3 separate regions of the Homo sapiens genome follow, and regions 2 and 3 are each linked to region 1. Evidence: promoter capture Hi-C in 16 types of primary human blood cells and fetal thymus (Javierre and others, 2016). All regions are on one chromosome and are shown on one strand. The core of a region is centred on a gene start or on the middle of the fragment in contact, and the rest is flanking DNA. Distances in the headings are between cores, read along the strand shown. Region 1 holds the start of BCL7C (BAF chromatin remodeling complex subunit BCL7C). Region 2 holds the start of TUFM (Tu translation elongation factor, mitochondrial). Region 3 holds the start of ATXN2L (ataxin 2 like).

Region 1 (4,855 bases), core at 1,854-4,353:
AAACTCTGTCTCAAAAACAAACAAACAAATAAACAAAAAAAACAAAAATCAGCCGGGCATGGTGGCATGCCTGTAATCCCAGCTACATGGGAGGCTGAGGCAGAAGAATCGCTTGAACCTGGGAGGCAGAGTTTGCAGTGAGCCAAGATCGTACCACTGCTCTCCAGCCTGGGCAACAGAGCAAGACTTCATCTCAAAAAAAAAAAAAAAAAAGGCTGGGCGTGGTGGCTCGTAATCCCAGCACTTTGGGAGGCCAAGGCGGGCAGATCACCTGAGGTCAGGCGTTTGAGACCAGCCTGGCCAACATGGCGAAACCCCAACTCTACTAAAAATACAAAACCAGCCGAGCATGGTGGTTCATGCCTATATTCCCAGCTACCCAGGAGGCTGAGGCAGGAGAATTGCCTGAACCCAGGAGGTGAAGGTTGCAGTGAGCCAAGATTGTGCCGTCGCACTCCAGCCTTGGCAAGAGCGAAACTCTCTCAAAGAAAAGAAAAAGAGAAAAGAAAAAAACCCAACCACGTAAAGTGTTTACCAGGGCACCTAGCACACAGTAAGAGCTCAATAAATACTAGCTGTTGTTATTCCTATTATTGTTAATCACCCCTATGACTATCACTATTATTTATTCACTCAACAGATATTTACTGAGCACCTACTATGTGTCCCATATTATTCTGAGGATACAGTAGTGAACAAGATCACATAGGGCCAGGCACAGTGACTCACGCCTATAATCCCAGCACCTTGGGAGGCTGAGACAGGAGGATCATTTCAGGCCACGAGTTCAAAACCAACCTTGGCAACATAGCGAGACCCTACCTCTACAAAAAATTTAAGAATTGGCTGGGCATGGTGGCACACACCTGAGTCCCAGCTATTTGGGAGGCTGGGGCCAGAGGATCCCTTGAGCCCAGGAGTTTGAGGCTGCAGTGAGCTATGATTGCACCAGAGTACTCCAGCGTGGGTGACAGAGACCTTGTCTCTAAAAAAAAGGGGGGGGAGGGCCGGGTGTGGGTGTGATGGCTCACACCCGTAATCCCAGCACTTTGGGAGGCTGAAGGTGGAGGACTGCTTGAGCAAGTGAGTTTGAGACCAGCCTGGGCAACATGGTGAAACCTTATCTCTACAAAAAATACAAAAATTAGCCAGGTGTGGTGGCATATGCCTGTGGTCCCAGCTACTTGGGAGGCTGAGGCGGGAGGATCGCTTGAGCCCAGGAAGTTCAAGGCTGCAGTGAGCTATGATCACACCACTATACTACTCCAGCCTGGGTGACAGAGCGAGACCCTTTCTCAAAAAAAAAAAAAAAAAAAAAAAAAAAAAAGGATCAATATGGGCCCAACATTCAGGAAACTGACATGAGAGTGAGGAGAAAGATAAACTAGTAAAAAATTAATTTACATGAAAATCTCAGACAGTGATATGTCTGTATAGATTCTAAGAGACCAGAGGAATGAGACTGTAGCTACAGGGAGATTCTGCAGGAGTCGGAAGGCGCCTTGAGGAGGGTGCACAAGACGGGGAGCAGGTATAGGGATGAGCTGGTAGGTTAGACTCTGGAGAAGACAGGACTTAGAGGAGAGAGCTCCTGGGAGGTACCTGGTCCTACCTCTCTCTTGGCCCAGCCGTGGGGGCTGAGCCTCCTCAGGGACCCCTTCTGGGGGTCCGGCAGGTGACACAGGGCGGCTGGGCTGGGGGGTGCCCCCAGGACTGGGCTCTGTGCCCTTTTGCAGGGAACCTTCCGAATGGAAACTCTGGTTGCTGTTCTCATCTGCGGGAGCAAGAGCCGAGATGGTTGGCCTGAGATCCCTAGTACACTCCTTCAGTCCCCACAGCCCCCCGCGTTTCAGGATCCCTACCTACCATTAAGATCCAGCAGGATGAGAGGGCCACCCCCTCGGGGACTGGCGCCCCTGCCCCGACGTTCCCGGCCACGGGATCTCTCTGCCCCGCCACCTGCCCGCCTTCGCTCCTGGGGGTTAGAGGATTAGGGTCAGAGCTCTTGGAAAGCCCCACCATACACCTAAGGAAACTGAGGCACTGAGAAGCAAAAGGGCTCAAACTCAGGGGGTGTGGAGCAGAAAAGAGGGCAAAAGGGGAGGAGCTGCTAATGATGGTTCCCGTCTGTCCTGCTGCATCTGAGGTCTCGGGGAGCTGGAGGTAGAGGTCAGCGTGGGGAGGAACTTGCCTGAGGTTGCACAGATGCAGGGCCTTGTGGGAATGGGGGTTGCTCACCTCCTCCTGGGGATCCACCACTGGCACCCACTTGAAGATACGAAGGGAAGTGTCGCCCACAGTCACCCATCGCTTCTCCCTGTGGGAGGGTGGGGGGCTGGGTCAGAGAGGCCTGAGGGGAGACCCACCCCCCTAGGAGCTGGACACATCTGGGGGTACCTGCAGAGGTTGAGGAGGCACAGGAGGATAGCAACAGTTTTGCTAATGGGGCATAGTTACATGGAGGAAGAGAGTCCTGCAAACCCCAGGGCATAGGCGGTGGGTGCCTCTAGAGAGAGGATATGATTTGGGGCCCTGGCTCTGCGGACCCCTGGGGCACACATGGGGGGCGTGGCTATGGGCCTGGCCCGGGATCAGAGCCCTGCAGATCCTGGGGCGCACCTGCAGGAGGGGTGTCAAAGCTTTAGGGGGCGGGGCACAAGAGGGGGCTCCCGCTCTGGGAGGACACGGCTGGGGATCACGCTTTGTAGACCCCCAGGAGTAGCCAGGCGAACGGGGACAGAGCCCTGTGGATCCAGGGCAAAGCTAGTGGGTGGAGATACACCGAACACCCGGGGCCCAGAGCTGGCGAGGGCAGCGTAGACGCCTTTGGTGCTGGTGGTCCCGCTGTGTCCCGTCCCTGGCCCCCGAGCAGCGCTCACCATCTCCGGACCTTCTCGATGGTCGCCATCACCTTCTTGATGTCATCCTTGGCCCGGCTCCGGGTCTCGGCCCGTACAGTCCGGCCGGCCATGCTGGCGGGGCTGGGGCCGGGGCCGAGCCCGCGGCGGGGCCGCCTCCCGTCCGGCGGGCTCAGGCTCCGCGCCAGGCCCGGGCGCCGCGCTCTCGGCCTGCCGTCCCCCCTGGAGTTGGCCGCGCCCTCTCTCGTCCCCAACGCCTCCGCAAGTCCCCGCCCCGTTTCCTGCCGCCGCGCCCCGCCCCGGCCTGTCCCCGGAGCGGCCCGGTGGCGCGGGCGGCCAGAGCCCAGGCCTGGAAGCCCGGCCGGCCCCGCCCCGACCCGGGCCCGCCCCCTTGGAGCGCCTGGACGCTCAGCGCCCCCTGCCCGCCGCCGAGAGCGGGAGTTGGGGACGGACGCGCGAGTTGGGGACGGAGAGCGGGAGTTGCGACCGGACGCGCGAGGCAGGGCCGAGGCCGTGTGTTCAGACCACGTGGGCGCGGGGTGCGCGACAGGGTCTGTGTCCTGCGCTGCGTGAGCCGCGGTGGGTGTCCGCGAAACGCTGTGTGTGGAGTGCGTGCGTGTGTCCGCCCTCGCCAGGCTGTTGGTCTACACCGCCCAACTTACTCAGTCATCCATTCATTCAACAGTCTTGTTAACTGAGTGCCAATTACGCTCCAGGCGCTGCGAATACGAGTGGGTCTCCACCACCAGAATGGCTAAAGTGAAAAAGACCGCACCGTGTGGAGGCGAGAAAGTAGAGCGACTGGACCTCTCTTGTATTTCTGGGGGAGTGTAAATTGGTAGAGACATTTTGGAAAACTGGCAGTTTTCTAATGAAGCCGAACATATGCCACCTCTGTGATCCAGCAGTTCCACTCCTAGGCTGTCAACACCCAGCAGAAATGTGTAGGTGTGAGCATCAAGAGGGTGCATGGGAATGTTCAGAGCCCTTTCATAACAGCCCCAAACTGGAAATAACCCATCAACAGAATGGAAAATGAATGATGCCCTACTCACTACCATGCACATAGACACAGCAACGGGATTGACATGCCCGGCTACACACAGCAACATAGACAAGTCGCATGATGAAATCTTGAGTGACAGAAGCCAAATGCAACAGTACATACTAGATGGTTCCAGGTGTATTACGTTCAGAACCAGACAAAACTAATTTATAGTGCACCAAAGTCAAGATAGTGATCGCCCTTAGGGTTGGGAGGGGACGAGGGGAGAGCTTCTGGGAGCTGATCCAGTTCTGTTGTGTAATCTGGTGCTGGTTCCCTGGGCATATGTATTCTGTGAAAATCCATCACATGACTTAAATAAAATGTACATTACTTAAATAAAATGAGTGTGTCTTTGTTGACTTTATTTGAGGCTGGCTTGTCAGCAGATAAGACCATGTCAAAATTTGTGCTGCTGTTGTGTGTGTGTGTGTGTTTCAAGGTGTGGCTGTTGTGTCTGTGAATTTGGGCGTGACCATGTCCAGAGGTTAAGGGTATAAGGGGTTAGGAGCATGGTTAAGACAGCATTTTTTTGAGCCAAGCTGCTTAGGTAAAATCCCAGTTGTGCCACACCTAACTGTGTTACCCTGGACAAGTCACTTCTCTCTATTCCGCATCTATAACACAGGAGTTAGTTAATGTGCATATGGCTCTTAGAACAGTGCCCAGCACATGGTAAATGCCCAATAAATATTTACAGTTAATACACATGTGATTGTGGGCCCTACCAATTGTCTGGCTCAATTCTATCTGCTGTGCCCTCTCCAGTTAAACTCTTTCTTCTTTTATTCCAGCAATTGCTCACGGCAATACACACACCCACTCACACGAACACACGCACACACATGCACGCGCACATGCACACACGCGCACACCTGCACACTCACACGCACACAAATCCACTCGCACACACGCATGCTCACACGCACACACGTCCGCATGCACGCACACA
Region 2 (4,407 bases), core at 1-2,500, 2.0 Mb before region 1:
CTTCAGTTCACATCCATATAGCCAAGTGTAGCAGTTAGAAACTCAGGCCCACCTTTCTCTACCATCTCCTCACCACCCATTCTGCGTGGCCAAGACCACAAACCTGCCATCTCATACCCAAACACTGAATATCTTAATCTCCTCCCCACAAGCCTAACATTTATCCTGACAAGAGGCAGCTTCTGGCCCTGTCTCCAGTGTCCCAGCAACCCTCACCTTAACATAATCTGCATGACCCGGGCAGTCTGTGTGGGCGTAGTGGCGGGCGGCAGTGCTATACTCCACATGAGCCGCATTGATGGTGATACCCCGAGCTCGCTCCTCCGGGGCATTGTCAATCTCCTCGTACTTCTTGAACTTAGCCCCACCTCCCTCAGCTAGAACTAAAGGAGGAAAAGAACACACCTCTCAGCTAAAGTTCCAGTGCTAGAGGCAGAGCTTAGACCACGCCCCTGAACCCTCCCACCTAAATACATAACCTCCTCCAATCTCTAACTCTTCCAGCAGAGAGAACTGTGGGTCAGAAAGAAATGTTAGAGGGCCTTAAGGGTCTGCCCTGTGACTTCTTTAGGGTACAGCCTCTGCTTGCAGAGCATTCCCCACGACTTTGTGATCCCCAAGCCATTGGTGGATCACAAAGTTCTTCCTGTTCAGGAGAAATTTGTCTCTTGCATCTCCCAATCCACCTGTCGCACAAATTCGGGCTCTTGGGGCCACAGTAAACTCCTCCAGCAGACACTCTGCTGGCCTTGCCTCCCTGGCTCCAGGTCCCATCAGTAGATAGGGCGCTGCTGGACGCCCCAACCCCACTCACTCTTCGTGATGGCTGCAGTCAGCGTGGTCTTCCCGTGGTCCACATGGCCGATGGTACCCACATTCACATGTGGCTTGTCGCGCACGTAAGTCTTCTTGGCCTCCACGGCCAGGCCGCGGCACAAGAGAGGCAATGCCGGGGCTTTCAGCAGCCGCAACAGACCCTGCAGCAGGAAGGTCCGGCCGGCGGCGAGACCTGCCGGGACCGAAGCTTGGAGTCAGGCAGGGAAGGGGTCAGACCGAACCCAGCCACCTACCACTCCCCCAAAGTGTTCCTGGGCCGCCATCGCCCTCCCTGACCACTCACCGCTGAAGTGGGGCGTCGCGCGCAGCAGGGTGGCGGCCGCCATTGTGGTCATACTCGCGCCCCGGTAACCGGGGAGCCGGGACCAGGAGCCCGAGCGCACAGAAGAAGAAGGGCGCCTGCGGCTGGAAGGCACTTCCGGCGGAAGTTAGAGCTGGGAGGGCAAGTCCGGGCCCCTCTAGCCGCCAGTGTCTATGGCCGTCTCAGCCGACGTCGGGCGCGCGGCTGAAGACGTCATGGAGGGGGCTGGTGTCTCGAGGGCGGAGTATGATGGAGAGGTTTTCCACCACTCGCGCCTCTCGGGCTGAGGGGCAACGTAGTTCTCTCTGGCGGTCGCAGGGGGCACTGAGGAGCGTCCCCTAAATCACCGGCGCCGCGAAGGCTCATGGGCGTAGTAGTTCTCAGGTCGGCGGGCTGTGGAGGTGATCAGAGTGGGAGTCAGGCGGGCTAGGCCGGACCCGGAGGGAGGGGCTCGGGCTCCGGGAGGCAGCTGCGGCTCCGACTGCTCAGGAACCTCCTCCTGGGCCCGGCAGAGAGAGACCCCGAGTCCCCCGGAGTCCGACTCGCTACGCGGGTCTTGCGAGATATCTGGCCGCCTCTGCCGCAGCTGGAGGTAGGGGACCAGGTCCTGGACGCCTTTCGGGGATGGGGTGAAGTGTGACCTCCCTCTTCGCTGAGACTTTGTTTTCTAATCTGTAAAATGGGAATAGTAGTATCCACTTCATAGGGAGAGCCTGACATCTAGCCCTGAGAGGAGATGAACTGGGTAGGAGTCAGTGTTGGGCCCTGTGAGGTCAGGCAGCTTGCGGGGACCCTGTACTGCTAGACCTCACAGGGCCAGAGCCCACAAGACAGACAGCTTCGCTGCCCACCCCTGTAGTCCCTCAGCAGCCTAAGGAGCAGTTCCGTTGGGCATCGCCCCACCCATCTAATTTTGCAGATGAGGAGCCAAGGATGAGGAGCCAGCTAGGGGAGCCTTTAAGGGGAGCCTGAGTCTCCTTTAATCTGTCGGTGTCCCCAGCACCTAACAGGGTGGAGCATGCAGTGAATGTTGAATGAATGGGTGCAAGGGTAGTCAATGTCCCTTAACTTTCACATCCATCATCTCATGGCAGCTTCCACAGGGCACTCCAAAGTGTTAATTATGGCTGCTTAACCCTGGCTAATGTTTCGGAACTCATCAGATCCTGAGACTCAGTGGACAGTGTTTGTTTCAAATAGATTCCCTAATTCCTCCCCTGGAGGTTATGATTCCGTGGGGTCTATGCACAGACTGGGAAGCTATATAACAAACACTCTTCTAAAACTGAGAAGAGGCTGGGCACGGTGGCTATAGTGCCAGCCTATAGTCCCAGCAGTTTGGGAGGCTGAGGTGGGAGGACGGTTTGAAGCCAGGAGTTCAAGACCAGCCTGGGCAGATTAGGAGACCCTATCTCTACAAAAAAAAATTTAAAATTAGCCAGGCACAGTAGCATGCAGCTATAGCCCCTCCTACTCAGGAGGCCGAGGCAGGAGGATCGCCTGAGCTCAGGAGTTCAAGGCTGTGGTGAGGTATGATCATGACACTGCACCCCACCGTGAGTGACAGAGAAAGACCCCATCTTTTTTTTTTTTTTTTTTTTTTTTTTGGAGACAGAGTCTCACTCTGTCGCCCAGGCTGGAGTGCAATGGGGCGATCTCGGCTCACTGCAACCTCCACCTCCTGGGTTGAAGCAATTCTCCCACCTCAGCCTCCTGAGTAGCTGGGACTACAGGCATGTGCCACCACGCCTGGCTAATTTTAGTATTTTTAGTACAGATGGGGTTTCACCTCGTTGGCCAGACGGCTCTCGAACTCCAGACCTCAAGTGATCCGCCCATTGTGGCCTCCCAAAGTGCTGGGACTACAGGCGTGAGCTACCACGCTCAGCCAAGAAAGACCCCATCTCTATAAAAATATTTTGGCCAGGCGTGGTGGCTCACACCTGTAATCCTAGCACTTTGGGAGGCCGGGCGGGTGGATTGCTTGAGTTCAGGAGTTCGAGAACAGCCTGGGCAACACGGTGAAACTCTGTCTCTACTAAAATACAAAAAATTAGCTGGGCGTGGCAGTGTGCACCTGTAGTACCAGCTACTCAGGAGGCTGAGGCAGGATAATTGTTTGCACCCGGGAGGCGGAGCTTGCAGTGAGCTGAGATGGTGCCACTGCACTCCACCCTGGGCGACACAGCGAGACTCCGTCTCCAAAAAAAAAAATTTTTTTTCAAATGAAAACTCAGAGGAGTTTAGGAAACTCTGAACTAGAGCTTTATGATGTTCAGGCATTCCTATTGTTTCACAATCAGCGCTCCCAGTGCTACCCTGGGTAGTAGGAACTATTATTTCCTCCATTTTGCAGGTGTGAAAACTGACGGTCAGGGTGATTAAGGAATCCACCACCACTAAACCCCAAAAAGTGTGCACACCGCACTGTCCTTTTTTTTTTTTTTTTTTTTTTGAGACAGAGTCACACTCTGTTGCCCAGCTGGAGTGCAGTGACACGATCTCGGCTCACTGCAACCTCCATCTCCCAGGTTCAAGCGATTCTCCTGCCTCAGCCTCCCGAGTAGCTGGGATTACAGGCGCCTGCCACCACGCCCAGCTAATTTTTGTATTTTTAATAGAGACGGGGTTTCACCATATTGGCCAGGCTGGTCTTGAACTCCTGACCTCAAGTGATCCACCCACCTTGGCCTCCCAAAATGCTGGGATTATAGGTGTGAGCCACCATGCCCAGCCAGACTGTACTATAATTTAACTCTCATTTTACTGCTCAGATAAAGTGAGGAACTTGCTAAGACTTCTCTCTTCCTGGCCCTCCAGTTAATCAGTTCTGCTTAGGAAAGGCTGGTATCATGTGTAGTATAAACAGATTTTGTTTTTGTTTTTTTGACAGAGCCTTGCTGGGTCTCCTAGGCTGGAGCATAGTAGGGCAGTCACAGCTCACTGCAGCTTCAGCCTCCCAAGCTCAATCTACCTCAGCCTCCCAAATAGCTGGGATTACAAGCATACACCACCACACCTGGCTAATTTTTGTATTTTTTGTAGAGATGGGGTTTCGCCATGTTGGCCAGGCTGGTCTCCCAATACCGGGGCCCAAGCCGTCTGCCCACCTTGGCCTCTCAAAATGCTGGGATTACAGGCATGAGCCACTGTGCCCAGCCTAAAAGGGTTTTCTGTTTCTACTCTGTACCTAAGTCACTGTACTCCTAGGAATTTATCCTAAGACACTATTGGCCACTAGCAAGTTATGAGTTTTTGGGGGTGGTATT
Region 3 (4,723 bases), core at 184-2,683, 2.1 Mb before region 1:
CGCCTAGCTAATTTTTGCATTTTTAGTAGAGACAGGGTTTCACCATGTTGGCCAGGCTGATCTCAAACTCCTGACCTCAAACCTCCCAAAGTACTGGGATTACAGACCATGCCCAGCCTCTTTTCACTTTCTTAAATAAGCTCCCCACTGCTTTGAGGATAATGTCCGTGTCTCTTACAAGACTTGGGAGCCTTTAAAACCTGATCCCAGATTAGCTACCTCTTCCCCCCTTTAATTTTATGCTTAGGACAAGCTGAGTTTTTCTTAGTTTGTCATATCCTATTTCCCTGCCTAGAAACCCATCTCCCCCTGCCCTCTTATCAGTTTTTTTTTATAATTTAAATTTTTTTTTTTTTGTAGAGACAAAGTCTCACTTTGTTGCCTAGGCTGGTCTCAAACTCCTGGCCTTAAACGATCCTTCTGCCTCGGACTCCCAAAATGTTAGGATTACAGGTATGAGCCACTGCGCCCGGCCCTCCTGTCCCTTATCTGGGTCTCCCAAAACTGGATTAAGATTAGGTGTCACTCCCATTTGCTCTTGTAGTCCTCTGTGCTTCACCTACTAGATCTCGTCAAATTCTCTGAATTCACCACTAGCATGAACTCCTCCAGAGCAGGAAGCAGTTTAATTATCCTTGTGTCCAAAACAACTAACTGAATACTCCAATGCCCAACTCATTTTGAATGAATGAAGCTGCCTTCATTGCAGGGTCGGGTGGAGGATTTTGAACTCGGAACTTTGGCCTTCAGTCTTTGTTATTACAGTTTAAAGATTCATTCTCGGGCATGGAGGAACAATTTAGGTCAAAATCACAAAAATCTGAAATAATTTAGGACGAGGCGTAAATTTATCTGCAAAGATCAACACGCTCAAACGAATCACTAATGCTCATCAGTCTTTTACTTAAAGCAAACAAGGTGGAGGGTAGCTCCTTGCGAAACCTACCACCTGCCTAAAAGCGCAGTGGCTCGGGTGGTCCAGTCCCGGAGACTTTCTTGGCACTTAAGGCTCTGCCCACGGGCCGCCAAGTGGCGGAAGAGCCTCACGCACGACGTGCCGCCTCACACTCCCGCGGAGGCATCGCGACGCAGCGACGGCGTGGGCGGAGAGGCCGGCCCTTCCTCTGGCGCCTTCGGCTCCTCCCCCTGCGCCTCACACGCTCATTGTGAAGCGACAGCGGCCGCCGGCTTCTAAGGCGGTTTGAGACCTTAAGACCCTAAATCCTTGGCGCGCGTGAGCGCCCGCGCCGCTCCTTACCCACTCCCAGGGCTAGGGGTGCGAGGTTCACCGACTTGATTCTCTCCCACTTTCCCGCCGGGAGCTAACCGCGCCGGTGTGCGCGGCACCTCGCGCCACTGCTCGCTCCTGGCCCCCCCCCCCCCCCCCCCCCCCCGGGAGCTCCCACCCGCGCGCTCCTCCCTCTCCGCTCCCCGGCGACGCGCACGCGCGCCAGCCCGGCTCGCGCCCTCTCGCTTTCCTCCAGCCGCGAGACCCCCTCCCCTTCCGCCTCGCGGCGCTTCCTCGCGCCGCGGTCTTCTCTCTCCACCCCCGACACCGCGGGGCTCCCCCCGCCCGCCCACGGCGGGCCCCGGCTGCCCGATCCCCCTCGCTTCCCGCGCTCTCCAGCGGGGCCCCAGCCCCGGCCCCCTCTCTCCCTCCCTTCTCTCTAATTCCCCTTCCGGACGCTGCCATCATGTTGAAGCCTCAGCCGCTACAACAGCCCTCCCAGCCCCAGCAGCCGCCCCCCACGCAACAGGCCGTGGCCCGTCGGCCCCCCGGGGGCACCAGCCCTCCCAACGGCGGCCTCCCGGGGCCGCTGGCCACCTCTGCGGCTCCTCCCGGGCCTCCAGCGGCCGCCTCCCCCTGCCTGGGGCCTGTGGCCGCTGCCGGGAGCGGGCTCCGCCGGGGAGCCGAAGGCATCTTGGCGCCGCAGCCGCCGCCGCCGCAGCAACACCAGGAGAGGCCGGGGGCAGCCGCCATCGGCAGCGCCAGGTGAGAAGGGTGGGCTCCGGGCGAGGGAGCCGCGGCCACCCAGAGGCTGTGGCTCGGTTCCGGTGGGGCGGACCCCGACCCGGCACCGTCAGGGGCACCGGCTGGGTGGGGAGTCCCCGTGAAGCTGGGGGAGGGCCCCCTCAGGTCCGAACAGGTCGGACGGAAAGGGTCCCCGGGCGGCCACCGGAGCACTGAGGGGCCGCGCTCGGCTCTCGGGGCCTAGTCAGGGCTCGCAGCCCCGGCCTTCAGGGGAGGCGGGGCGCATCCCGCCGGCGCCGTCGGAACGGGGAGTTGGGGGGGGGCAAGGAGCTGATCGGGGTCCCCGGTTCCATTACCACGAAGGGTCTCGCGGTCCCCGGCTTCAGCCAATGGGGAGTCTGCTGCGGGAAGGGGTCCCCGGCCGTAGCCAATGGAGGGGGGCGCGCGGCCCACAGTTTGGCCAATGGGGAGGGAGGGACTTGGGAGCGGGTTGCTGCCTCCCCCTTCCCGGTCTGGCCAGTAGGAGGGGAGCGAGGTGGGCGGGGGGACGGAAGGAGGGATGACTGGGAGGACTGCGGGCCGGGAGCCTCTGGCGCGCGCGCCCCCTTCCCGTACGTGCGCGTGGATGCTCGGTCTCATGACCCGGGCATTCGCGCGCCCCGGGAACACCTAGGGCAGGGACTAGTTCGTGGAGGGGCTCGTCTGGTGGCAGTGCATGAGTAGTGGAGGCCCTGCTCAGTTTTTCCTGTGCGAGTGTGTGTGTGTTAATGGAATTAAGAGTGGCAGCACACGCAGGCGCAGTGGGCTCTGATCGCTGGAGGTGGGGGTTCGGAAAGTCCCGTGGGTTTTAGTGCGCAGGCGCAGACCGGGCGAGGCCTCCCGGTGGATGGCTTTTGCGGCTGCGCTGTCCCCCAGCCCCGCCAGCGGCCCCCTCTTCGCCCTCAACCGCCGGTTACATCAGCCAGCGACGAGCAGGGTTACCTGGCGATTGGTGATCCCCGCAGAGTGGGTAACGGGCTGAATGAGTCATGAGGTCGAGGGGATGGGGTGTGGAGGGGATACCCCTCCTCCCACAGTTTTGAGGCGTCAGGCTGCTGAAAATGATTGTCTTTTCTGTTTGGGAGGTAATGTACCTGAGCTAGGTAGTTCCAAAGCTGCACTCCTGGAGCTTTTGCCCTCACAGCTGGCGTGGCTTTTTGGTTAATACTGTAGCATTGATCTGTTGGTAGCCTGCAGCCCTAGCCCCTTTCTCGTTGGTTCTTAGAGCAATTGACAACCATTGTTGATTGAGATCTTTTTGCTGGCATTTGGAGGAAATGTGTTTGCTGGCTTATTAATGTCTATTTTTTTCTTCCTCTACAAGGTGACAGTTTGAAAATCTTATTTATTGGCCGGGCGCAGTGGCTCACGCCTGTAATGCCAGCACTTTAGGAGGCAAAGGTGGGAGGATCCCTTGAGCCCAAGGAGATCGATACCAGCCTGGGCAACACAGATGGGAAATCCCATCTCTACTAAAAATTAAAAAAAAAAAAAGCCAGGAGTGGTGGTTCGTACCTATAGTCTCAGCCACTCGGGAGGCTGAGGCAGGAAGATCACTTGAGCCTTGGAGGTTGAGGCTACAGTGAACTGAGATCACGCCACTGCACCCCAGCCTGGGCAACAGAGGGAGACCCTGTCTCAAAAAAAATAGAAAAATCTTACTGATTAACAATTTTGTAGTCTAAATCAGCATCATCAGGTGGTATATACTTCTAGGATTTAACATTAATTTCATAGTGGTCTAAGAGGGCTTGAACAGACTTAAGTAATTTCTTGTTTTCTTTTATAGGGGACAGAGCACAGGAAAGGGACCCCCACAGTCACCTGTGAGTGTCTTCTCCCACCCTGTTTAAGATACATAGACCTAAAAGATGCATAATGTGGGAATATAGGGCACATTAGGTCTAGATAGAGTCTAATGTACTCAGGAGGGCTGTGGGCCCGGCACACACAAGGCAGAATGAGTAGAGTGCGGCGGGCATTTAGAAAAGAAAATGAGGTGTTGACTGATTACTCCTTTAATTCTCCCTCTTATGTTAACTGACAGGTGTTTGAAGGCGTCTACAACAATTCCAGAATGCTGCATTTCCTTACAGCTGTTGTGGTAAGTTGGTACTTAACCCCCGGGTTGTTTAAGGAACGTAATGCATCTACTTTCTGGAGACACTCTTCTTATTTTTCCCACTCTGCCAGGGCTCCACTTGTGATGTAAAGGTGAAAAATGGTACCACTTATGAGGGTATCTTCAAGACGCTAAGCTCAAAGGTCAGTGTACTCAAATTTAATTATTTTTGGAGTTGCAGAGTAGGAGGAGAATGAAATAGGCTCATTGAAGGTGTCAATTGGGTGATGTCAGAGTATGCCTTTAGTTGTTTCTGTAGGCCTGTGCTGAATAGTGCTGCAGGGAAAAAAGACAAATTTGAGGGCTGGGTACTTTAATGTTAAAATATTTAAGTTTAAATTTTTGTGAGACTTTTGCTAAGTCCTGTGGCTGATGTTGAGAAAACAATGCACTTGGTTCCAAGCATGTTGAGGATGTAGTGTTGTGAAAAGTTTGGGAAGGGTAAGAGAAATCCAGTTCTATTTAAGAGAAATCCAGTTCTATTTTTGCCTTCACTTTTCTTGAAACTGACCCATGGGTGTGGGGAATGGGGTGTTTGTAGTTTGAACTAGCCGTGGATGCTGTGCACCGGAAAGCATCTGAGCCAGCAG

Evidence for each region. The method cuts DNA at HindIII sites, captures the fragments that hold promoters and counts their contacts. A CHiCAGO score of 5 or more calls a contact.
Region 2: the fragment with the promoter of TUFM here is called in contact with the fragment with the promoter of BCL7C in region 1 in 1 of 17 cell types (fetal thymus); the score reaches 6.0 in fetal thymus.
Region 3: a contact is called between the fragment with the promoter of ATXN2L here and the fragment with the promoter of BCL7C in region 1, in 1 of 17 cell types (non-activated CD4 T cells). The highest score is 7.4, in non-activated CD4 T cells.

Annotation. Positions count from the first base shown.
Region 1 is chr16:30,890,974-30,895,828 of GRCh38, forward strand. BCL7C (BAF chromatin remodeling complex subunit BCL7C) reads right to left here and starts at 3,104. Exons shown (of 6, transcript NM_004765.4): 1 at 2,880-3,104; 2 at 2,239-2,317; 3 at 1,867-1,975; 4 at 1,613-1,774. The coding sequence starts at 2,971. It overlaps MIR762HG (MIR762 host gene), which reads left to right. Exons shown (of 3, transcript NR_110942.1): 3 at 3,575-4,247. MIR762 (microRNA 762) reads left to right here and starts at 2,930; the gene lies at 2,930-3,012. RefSeq lists enhancers at 2,061-2,693, 2,232-2,561, 4,305-4,810, 4,811-4,855 and a silencer at 2,942-3,421. The HindIII fragment of the contact is 7,734 bases long and covers 2,638-4,855 here.
Region 2 is chr16:28,845,098-28,849,504 of GRCh38, forward strand. It overlaps TUFM (Tu translation elongation factor, mitochondrial), which reads right to left and starts at 1,251. Exons shown (of 10, transcript NM_003321.5): 1 at 1,121-1,251; 2 at 815-1,009; 3 at 217-383. The coding sequence starts at 1,172. It also overlaps a transcript of SH2B1 not described here. RefSeq lists an enhancer at 1,113-1,602. The HindIII fragment of the contact is 15,792 bases long and covers 1,023-4,407 here.
Region 3 is chr16:28,821,566-28,826,288 of GRCh38, forward strand. ATXN2L (ataxin 2 like) reads left to right here and starts at 1,434. Exons shown (of 22, transcript NM_007245.4): 1 at 1,434-1,993; 2 at 3,801-3,837; 3 at 4,059-4,115; 4 at 4,205-4,276; 5 at 4,675-4,723. The coding sequence starts at 1,695. LOC124903672 (a long non-coding RNA gene) reads right to left here and starts at 2,477. Exons shown (of 2, transcript XR_007065042.1): 1 at 2,329-2,477. RefSeq lists enhancers at 713-1,449, 961-1,170 and a silencer at 1,491-2,640. The HindIII fragment of the contact is 7,883 bases long and covers 1-4,723 here.